Regions from separate parts of the Homo sapiens genome. Here regions 1 and 3 are each linked to region 2. The links are contacts of gene promoters, found by promoter capture Hi-C in human tissues and cell types (Jung and others, 2019). All regions are on one chromosome and are shown on one strand. Each heading gives the region's core, a stretch centred on a gene start or on the middle of the fragment in contact. The rest is flanking DNA. Distances are from core to core; before and after follow the strand shown.

The links. The method cuts DNA at HindIII sites, captures the fragments that hold promoters and counts their contacts. A contact is called where the count stands out against the background at its distance.
Region 1: a contact is called between a fragment that was not itself captured here and the fragment with the promoter of VSTM2L in region 2, in 4 of the 25 tissues and cell types used here (H1 embryonic stem cells, IMR-90 fibroblasts, dorsolateral prefrontal cortex and 1 more).
Region 3: a contact is called between a fragment that was not itself captured here and the fragment with the promoter of VSTM2L in region 2, in 5 of the 25 tissues and cell types used here (H1 embryonic stem cells, bladder, dorsolateral prefrontal cortex and 2 more).

The regions. Positions count from the first base shown.
Region 1 is chr20:37,732,500-37,735,199 of GRCh38, forward strand. It overlaps CTNNBL1 (catenin beta like 1), which reads left to right. Exons shown (of 16, transcript NM_030877.5): 2 at 380-568. Among named protein-coding and RNA genes, the nearest start is that of CTNNBL1, 40 kb to the left of the region's middle. The HindIII fragment of the contact is 3,761 bases long and covers 1-2,700 here.
Region 2 is chr20:37,901,695-37,904,394 of GRCh38, forward strand. VSTM2L (V-set and transmembrane domain containing 2 like) reads left to right here and starts at 1,433. Exons shown (of 4, transcript NM_080607.3): 1 at 1,433-1,777. The coding sequence starts at 1,657. The region is part of intron 2 of LOC124904896 (a long non-coding RNA gene); the gene reads right to left. RefSeq lists an enhancer at 733-1,696. The HindIII fragment of the contact is 19,122 bases long and covers 1-2,700 here.
Region 3 is chr20:37,711,218-37,713,917 of GRCh38, forward strand. The region is part of intron 1 of CTNNBL1 (catenin beta like 1); the gene reads left to right. Among named protein-coding and RNA genes, the nearest start is that of CTNNBL1, 19 kb to the left of the region's middle. The HindIII fragment of the contact is 3,882 bases long and covers 1-2,700 here.

The DNA.
Region 1 (2,700 bases), core at 69-2,568, 170 kb before region 2:
TTTTGTGAAATGGCAAAACTGCGTATAAAAAAATTCCCACTGACTTTCATGGTATATTTATAGAATCATTAAGGATCTGAAAAATGACCACATAGAGCTTTACCCCATGTGGTGGGAGAAGTTGTATGCTGGATGCTTTTGAGTCAGAGAATTCTTGAAAGCTTTTAGGATATTTGCTGTCTATGCCTTGCAAAGTCTTTTTTTGTATTTTTTGTAGAGTCAGGGTTTTACCATGTTGCCTCAGGCTGGTCTCAAACTCCTGGGCTCAAGAGATCTGCCTGCCTTGGCCTCCCAAAGTGCTGGGATTATAGGCATGAGCCACCACGCCTGGCTTCTATGTTGTATCCAGCTCTAAAATCTTATGTTTCTTTTCTCTCAGCCCAATAGGGGCACAAAACGTCCCCGGGATGATGAAGAGGAGGAGCAGAAGATGCGTCGGAAACAAACTGGTACTCGAGAACGCGGCCGCTATCGGGAAGAAGAAATGACTGTGGTGGAGGAAGCGGATGATGACAAAAAAAGGCTGCTGCAGATTATTGACAGAGATGGGGAAGAGGAAGAGGAAGAGGTAACGTGGCAGCGCTGGGTGGGAGCTGAGATGGCTGGCCCTGTAAAACGTAATTTTGGGCCAAATACTAAGCTTGTCTGAGCTTCCCATCTTCATCTGTAAAATGGGGTTAAGAATTCATATTTCATCGCGTTAATGTGAAGGTTAAGTGGGCTAGTGCAGTTGGGAAAGCATCTTATGAGATGTAAAGAATGTGACAGAGTTTTAAAATTGTTCCATATTATGTACTGTAGGGGAGGGTCAGGGCAGGCTTCCTGGATCTTACTGAGGACACATAGAAGGCACTTGCATTATTATCTTTGAAAGAGGGGTCAAATTTCACCAAGTGGAAGGAAGGGCTTTTTGGGCAGAGAAAATGGTATTAGCAAAGCAACAAAAGTGGAGAAGTTTAATGGGTTCCACAGTATTAGGTATTTAGGTGTGACTGCAAAAGTACAGCTTAGGGAAGGAGATTCCTCGGGCCTTTCCCTTTGCTGTTCCTCAAGATGCGTTGGGGCCTTTCCACTCATTCCTGCCTCTGGACCTTTGGACTTCTGTGTCCTCTGTTGGAATGCTCGTCTCCCTTAATGCTTTGTATGACTGGTTTCTTCACATTCAGGTCTCAGTTCAGATGTTTCCTCCTCCAAGAAGTCTTTCCTATGTAGCCCTGCAAGCCATTCTCTCATTTCCTCATTACTGTATTTTGTATATTGTCTGCATAGCACGTATCATGATTTGAAATTCTAGTTGTTTATTTTGCTCATTGCTGTCCTCCTCTCAGCCTCCCATGAAAACAGAGACTGGCTCTGTTCTGTTCACAGCTCTATCTTTGGCACCCAGAGCAATACCTAGCTCTTGGTAGGCCCTTAATAAATATTTATTGAATGAATAAATGAATGAAGCTGGGAAGAGTAGAGGTAAAATATCAGTGATTAAAAACAAAATGACCTTACCTCTGTGTCTTTTTAAATCTTTAAGTGTTAACTTGTGTGTTATTTCACTCTGGCATTTTGTTCAATATGAATTATGGAAATAAGAGTCTTAAGAGCCAGCTGTTTTTTGGTTCTCTCAAAGACACGATGCTAAGTTTGGATTACAAAATGAGGTTGGCTGTGAATCTGAGAAGAAGAAAAAATGGATTCATATTCCAAAAAGGTCTTTACTGTGTTGTGACAATAGCTCTGTCTTTATTAGGATTTGTACTAGTGCTAATTTGGGGGTCTCCCGCTAAAAGATGATGGCACTTTAGAAATACGTGGTGGGAGACAGTCCTGAATTTTTTAATTTCCTCTCTGAGGGCAGCAGCCTTGCCAGGGCTTAGACAAACAGTGTGTGTAGCACATCCTCCCTCCCTTCCCTCCTCACCAGCTTCTGCTCAATCTGTTAGCCCTGCAGCAGCAGTTAATTGGCAGGTATAATTCCCATGTAGGGCAAGGCTGGTACTGGAGGATTAGGATAGTAGCTGTCATGGGTAAGTGGTTTCTAGCCTGGGAGACAGAAATGTAATGTGGGACCAACCCGTCTGTTAAGGGACAGGGAAAAAGAGATCGCTTTGTAAAAATGACACATGGAAGGCTACAAGTCCAGGAGTTATTTTCTCACTGCCACTGAAGTCCCATTTGATGAAAAACAAGTGATGTTTGCCCCTGTAAAGTCACGTGAACTTGTAAAATATTATTGTCCTTTTTGTGCTACATCATCAGCATTCATCTTTCTGAAATCTCCCTCTGGTTTCTGACGTTGAGCTATTGGAGATACTGCTGTGGCTGATGACTAAGACTGATAATTCAGTTTTCCCCCAGTGTTGGAGAGAAATTAAAGGAGGGAAGGCCAAACCCCGGAGAGGCTAGGACTTCGGAAATCCCATGAGAGCTGTGTTAACACTAATGTGGTTTTTCTCCAGAGTGGGGCAAGATGTTAGCTAAGAAAAGAAAAAGTAGCAGATATTGAGCTTACTTGAAAGTGATTTAACCCTTTCCTAGAAATGTTTTGATTATTTTAGTTAAATTCTAGTGGTATGTTGGGTACATTGTGCCTGTTGCTGATAATAACCATAACAGCTTGCATTCATGTAGTTTACAAAGTAGTTTTATGTACATCCTTTCTTTAGGTCATCTCTATGACCTTGAGAGATAACAGGTAACAATTTCATT
Region 2 (2,700 bases), core at 183-2,682:
TGGGCGCTGTACACACGGCTGGACGCGGGATCCACCTGTGTTCTGGAGTGGGGAGTGGGCTGTCGGAGGGGTTGACCCTGTTCGACGGGGACGGGGAAGAAAGTCTGAGGGTCTGTCCACGGTGTGAACCCTAGCATCAAAGGGCCAGTTGAGACGCTGTCCACGGTGCCCAAAGGATGGGCCCGGGTGGGGCGGGGGGCGGGGGGCGGGGGGGGGGCTGGCGCTGTCCTCCTCCGTGGTGCTGAAACCGGGAGGACCAGGCTGTGTGAGCAGGGAGGCCTGGGGAAGGGCAAGGGATGAGAGCAGGAGGGACCCCGCCCAGGAGTCAGGGGCCTCGCCCGACTCGCCGTGGGACCTCAGAGAAGCTAATTACCTGATTTCAGGCGCTTCCTTATCTTTTAAATGGGACCACAGTTCCGCCCTCCTGTCTGTCCCATCAGCCCCAGTAACACGGCTTGGGAAGGAACTGGAGGACTTTGTTGGATTCTTGCTCTTGGGAATGGGAATGGTGCCCTATCCCCCTCCCCTGCCACACTCACACACACATACACCCACGCATACGCGCGCGCACACGCACACGCACACACACACTCATGCACACACACACCATCAAGGCTCATTGGTCTAGGGAAGGAGCCTACAGTCCAGAAGGGGGCGATCCCATCCACCACATAAGGTCCAGTATCTTCAAGAGCCAGGAGCCGCAACAACTAACTGGCCTGTCTCTCTCCCATTACAAAGACTCGAAAACTGAGTCCCAGAAAGGGGAACACCGACAATAATAACTACTGAGCTCCTACCACGTAGGCAGCATTATGCTAAGCGCTTTGCATGCACGATTTCGCAAATCCTCACCAGGACCCCCGCAGACAGCTATTACCCCTATTTCTCAGATGAAGACTTCGAGGTTCAGAGAGGGGTAGACACCCGGACGCGATCACACAGCGAGCCGAGGTCGGCGGCAGAGCTATCACCAGGTCCCCTGGGTCTCAGCCCAGGCTCCCACCCTACCTCGCCCTCACCCCCAGCCCCACTGGCCCCTGACCCCGGCCCCGCCCTGCCGGTAAAGTTAGGAGCCTCTGAGTGCGCTGGCCTGGCGGCGGGTGCCCTGGCTTTTCTCCCTCTCCCCGCTGGACGGCATTTCTGTGGCTGAAGCCCGTTGGGTCGTGCTTTGCGGGAACCGCGTCCCTGGGGTGGCTCTCTCCGCCCCATCCCGGCCCCGCCTCCGCACTCGGGCGGGGGAAAGTTGCGGGTACCGCTTTAAAAATCCCAGCCTGGGCAAAACTTTGATGATAAATCAAGCGGCAGATCCCTCCGCCGCCTGCTCCGAGCGGGAGGAGGGAGGGGAGGAGGGAGGGGAGGAGGGAGGCGGGAGGAGGGAGGAGGGTGCGGCGGCGGCGCGGCGTGGCCTTCCGCGGAAGGGAAGAGTCCCGCAGTCGGAGGCGGCCGGCTGGGCGTGCGCTCGCTCCCCGAAGCCGGGGCTGGGCCGGAGCCGGGCGAGGGCTGGGAGCTGGGCCGGGTCCGGGGACAGCGGGCGAGGGGCAGCTGCCGGAGCCGGGCAGCCAGGCCGCTCAGGGCAGGGGACAGCTGGCGCCGGTTCTGCGGTCTCCGGGGCCCAGATGTGAGGCGGCGGCGCCCCCGGCCCGAGAGCGCACGATGGGGGCCCCGCTCGCCGTAGCGCTGGGCGCCCTCCACTACCTGGCACTTTTCCTGCAACTCGGCGGCGCCACGCGGCCCGCCGGCCACGCGCCCTGGGACAACCACGTCTCCGGCCACGGTGAGTTCGGTCGCCGCCCCCGCGGACTTCCCCACCAAACCCCAACCCGGGCCGCGCCACTCCAACTTGGCCGCCCCGGGGCTCGAACCGGCGCCAGTCGTGGCGGGCATCCCGGGGCGCCCCCTGCCGGCGCGGTGGACCCGCCCTGGCACCCTGGCCCTGCAGAGAAGGGGGCACCCGGGGCGCACCCCCGAACCTCCTCCCCACACACTCGCGCGGATACGCACACCTGCATGGCCACACCGATATGCACAGCCGCGGACACACTCAGAGCCACAGTCGCTGCTTTCTCACACTCACAACTCCTACCCTGCACATCTCCACACACCTCAGGTCCCCCTCCTCACTGCAAGCCTTTACACTTATGCCCACTACACACGCACATCAGGCACTGCGCCGGTGGGCTCACTCTGCCAGCTGGCGCACACGCTTCGCCACAACTCTTGCCTGCCCACCTGCAGACACACTGGTGCGCGCGCGCGCACACACACACAGGCACACACATACACACACATGAACACAATTTGCTCACCCACTCCTCTCTGCCCATCTGCCTTTACTCTTCTGGGTTTAACCGCACAGAGGCCCTTGTCCTCTTCCTCTCCACACCCAGCCCTATACCACTGGAAAGGTCCTTGGGGGCAGAAGACCTTGTTTCTTGAGAACTGGTCGCCTGGGGCTGCAGCCTCCCAGTTGGGCGGGTGGCACCTGGTGGAAGCCCCTCAGAGCCACCGGAGTAGTTGGGGTTGCTGCTTGCAGCCAGAGGCATGGGAGTGGGAGTGGAAGTGGAATGCCGGGTGCTTTTGTCTGCCTCTGGGGATGGGCAGGAAGCCGTGCCATCCTTCCATAGGGTACCCCCATCCTCATCCTCGGCCCTAGAGGACTGAAATGTGGGAAATCTCAACTCCAGCCGCTGTGGAAGC
Region 3 (2,700 bases), core at 174-2,673, 190 kb before region 2:
TTCTCGTCTTATCTCCTTTTGCCATAGTTTCCTAGTCATTCACCAGGGGTTGGTAAGGAAATAGGATGTTGTTTACCATTGTTTCTAGGGCATTGTAACATATGCTGCTAGTCAGGCTGTGAGACAATCCAGATTTTGGGGCGGTTAGCAAATTTCATTTGGATTAGTGCTCCATATTGAACCTGTCATTCTTTAATCATTCCATACATATTTATTAAATGCCTACTAAATGTAAGGTATTACACTAGACGTTGGGAATAAAGTGCTAAACAGGATAGTTGTAGTCCCTGTCTTTATGGAACTTACATCCAGGGAGGCAAGACAGACAATGAATAACAATACCTAAACAAGCAAACACATACTAGATAAATAAAAACAAGATAATTTCAAATAGGAATATGAAGGAAAAAAATAGGCTGATGTAATATAGTGTTGGGGGAGCAGTGGCTGTTTATTTTGGAAGGTTCTAGAAGGCCTCTTTGAGAGGTGACATTTGAGCTGTGAACTAAATGATGAGAAAGATCCAGACATATGAAGAGCTGTGGGACTGGCAGTAAAGATCAAGGGAAAAGCCAAAACAAAAACTCTGAGGTGGGAACAGACTTGTCATGTATGGCCAGAGCTTGGTGAGTGAAGAGGGGACAGTTGATAAGGACAGAGGGGTCAGCTTCGGGGAGGAGGGAGAATCCTAACATTTTTTAACTTTATTCCTAGCACCATGGGAAGCCATTAGGGGTTTTAAGCTGTCGAGTGACACAATTTGGTTTACGTTTTAAAAGATGGCTTCATCTACAGAGTGGAGAATTGTAGAGGAGCATTCTGGCCAGCTTAGCTGTGGGAGGGTGTGGAATTCACCTTTGTGCTGCAGAGGGCCTCAGCTGAAGCCATGCTGTCCCTGGGATAATTGCTTTCCCGCCTAGGTTGTTTTCACAATCTCCACTTCTAAACATTTAATCTGTGTTCTGGCTTAATCAAGAAGCAGCGCTCTCCTTGTGCCAGGCTTGGCTCAGAAAATGTGGGCATCGTGCCTTTTGTTGAGCGCCCTGGCCTGGAGAGAATGAAGAAAGCATCCCCTCATGGCCTGAGGACAATGCAGCTGACCCTCAGCACCTGGTAACTTGTAGGAAGCTTTAGAATCTATAAACTTGATGTGCTTCTGCAAAACAGTTGCAGATGGTCTGAAGTGATGATTAAATATCACTGCCACTTTGCCCAGATCTGCTATGGCCATTCTCTCCATGTCTGGTTTTACATTACAGTGGGTAATTAAGGGGGCACAACCATTTCTAGTTACTTCCAGGCCATCTTTTTCAATTGGCTTATGGGGAAATTACAGTTGCTGTCAGTTGTGTAAGTGACTGCATTGAGCAGCGATTGTGAATGGCTACTTTTTGTGTTCAAAATAATACTAATACAAAACACCCAAACTTAAAAAGAACTGTTCCTAATGAAAGGGAATAATTGCCTGCCTCTGCTGTCTCTGCTGGATCTCCACTGGGAGTTCTGCCATCAGACTTGTCAGAGTTGGTTGGCAGGGACTTTTTCTCCTGAGTTAGCACATAGAGATATGAACGGGCAGAGATAACACAAATTAGCAAAGATACAAGCATATCTGCAGAGGAACAGATTTCCTTCCGACCAGAAGTGCCGTTGGTGGGCACCACCCTAATTTTCAGTGCATCTCTTAGTGCTGATGACAGGACTTTTCAGCAAATTTTTTAAAAAATGGCTTAAGCACCACCGGACCTGGGCAGTTTTTATAAGATTTTAGAGTTTCAAAGGGCTGCTAAGCTTGCCAATGTAAAGTCACTGAATATTGTCTCCCTGGCTGCTCACTGGGGATCCTTACACCTCACTCAGCATGATGAACTTGGAGACAGAAATTCGTAAGCTTCAGCCCCATTTTTTTTGACTGAAGATTTCTTTTTCCATTCCCACAAAACTTGCAAGGACACAGAAGGCTCAGTGGGGGAAAAAGATGGCATGTGCCTCTGGCTGACATGACTTGTGCCAGTGGTTGCGTGGGGATTCCATAATGAAGACTGCAAATCACTTCCCATCCTCTTGGAGCCTGTCCCATAATTAGAAGATTAAACATTTTGTTTAAATTGGTAATTTTTTCCCCCTCCCCTCTCTGAGTGCTTAAAACCACCATTAGAGCAGAATGGAGACTGGTTAACTGATTCTGGGCTCCATGTTCTAGTTGTGATTGTCAGCAGGCGGTTGAGGAAGTCTTATTTTAATTAAAAAAGCAATTTTTAGCTATGCTTCACCTTGTGTGAGGCAGAGGCACCTCTGACCGTGTGAACTTTCTGATTGCTGAATGTACTGAGCATAGCTTTTCTCAGGGGCATGACACCAAGCCTAGGCAGATAATATCATGGGGTGGGTGTGCAGCTGGCCTTGAGGTATTGCCTCTGCACTAATGGCAGATTTGCTCTTCATTTGACAGATTGACTTTGTGTTTATGGGCAGGGTGTCACAGGGATGGCGTGTTCCTGAATTTAAGTGAATGCAAAGCAGCTCATAGAGGAGCATGGAAATTTTCCTACTTTTAATGAAATAAAAGAATATACGTTTTCTCCTTCCCATGAAACCAAGCCAAAAGAACAAAACAAAGGGCTGAGGACTACTCGGTATCAAAGCCCACTGAGAGCCAGGCTTTGTGCTGTTCGACTTATGTGTGTTATCCCATCTCAT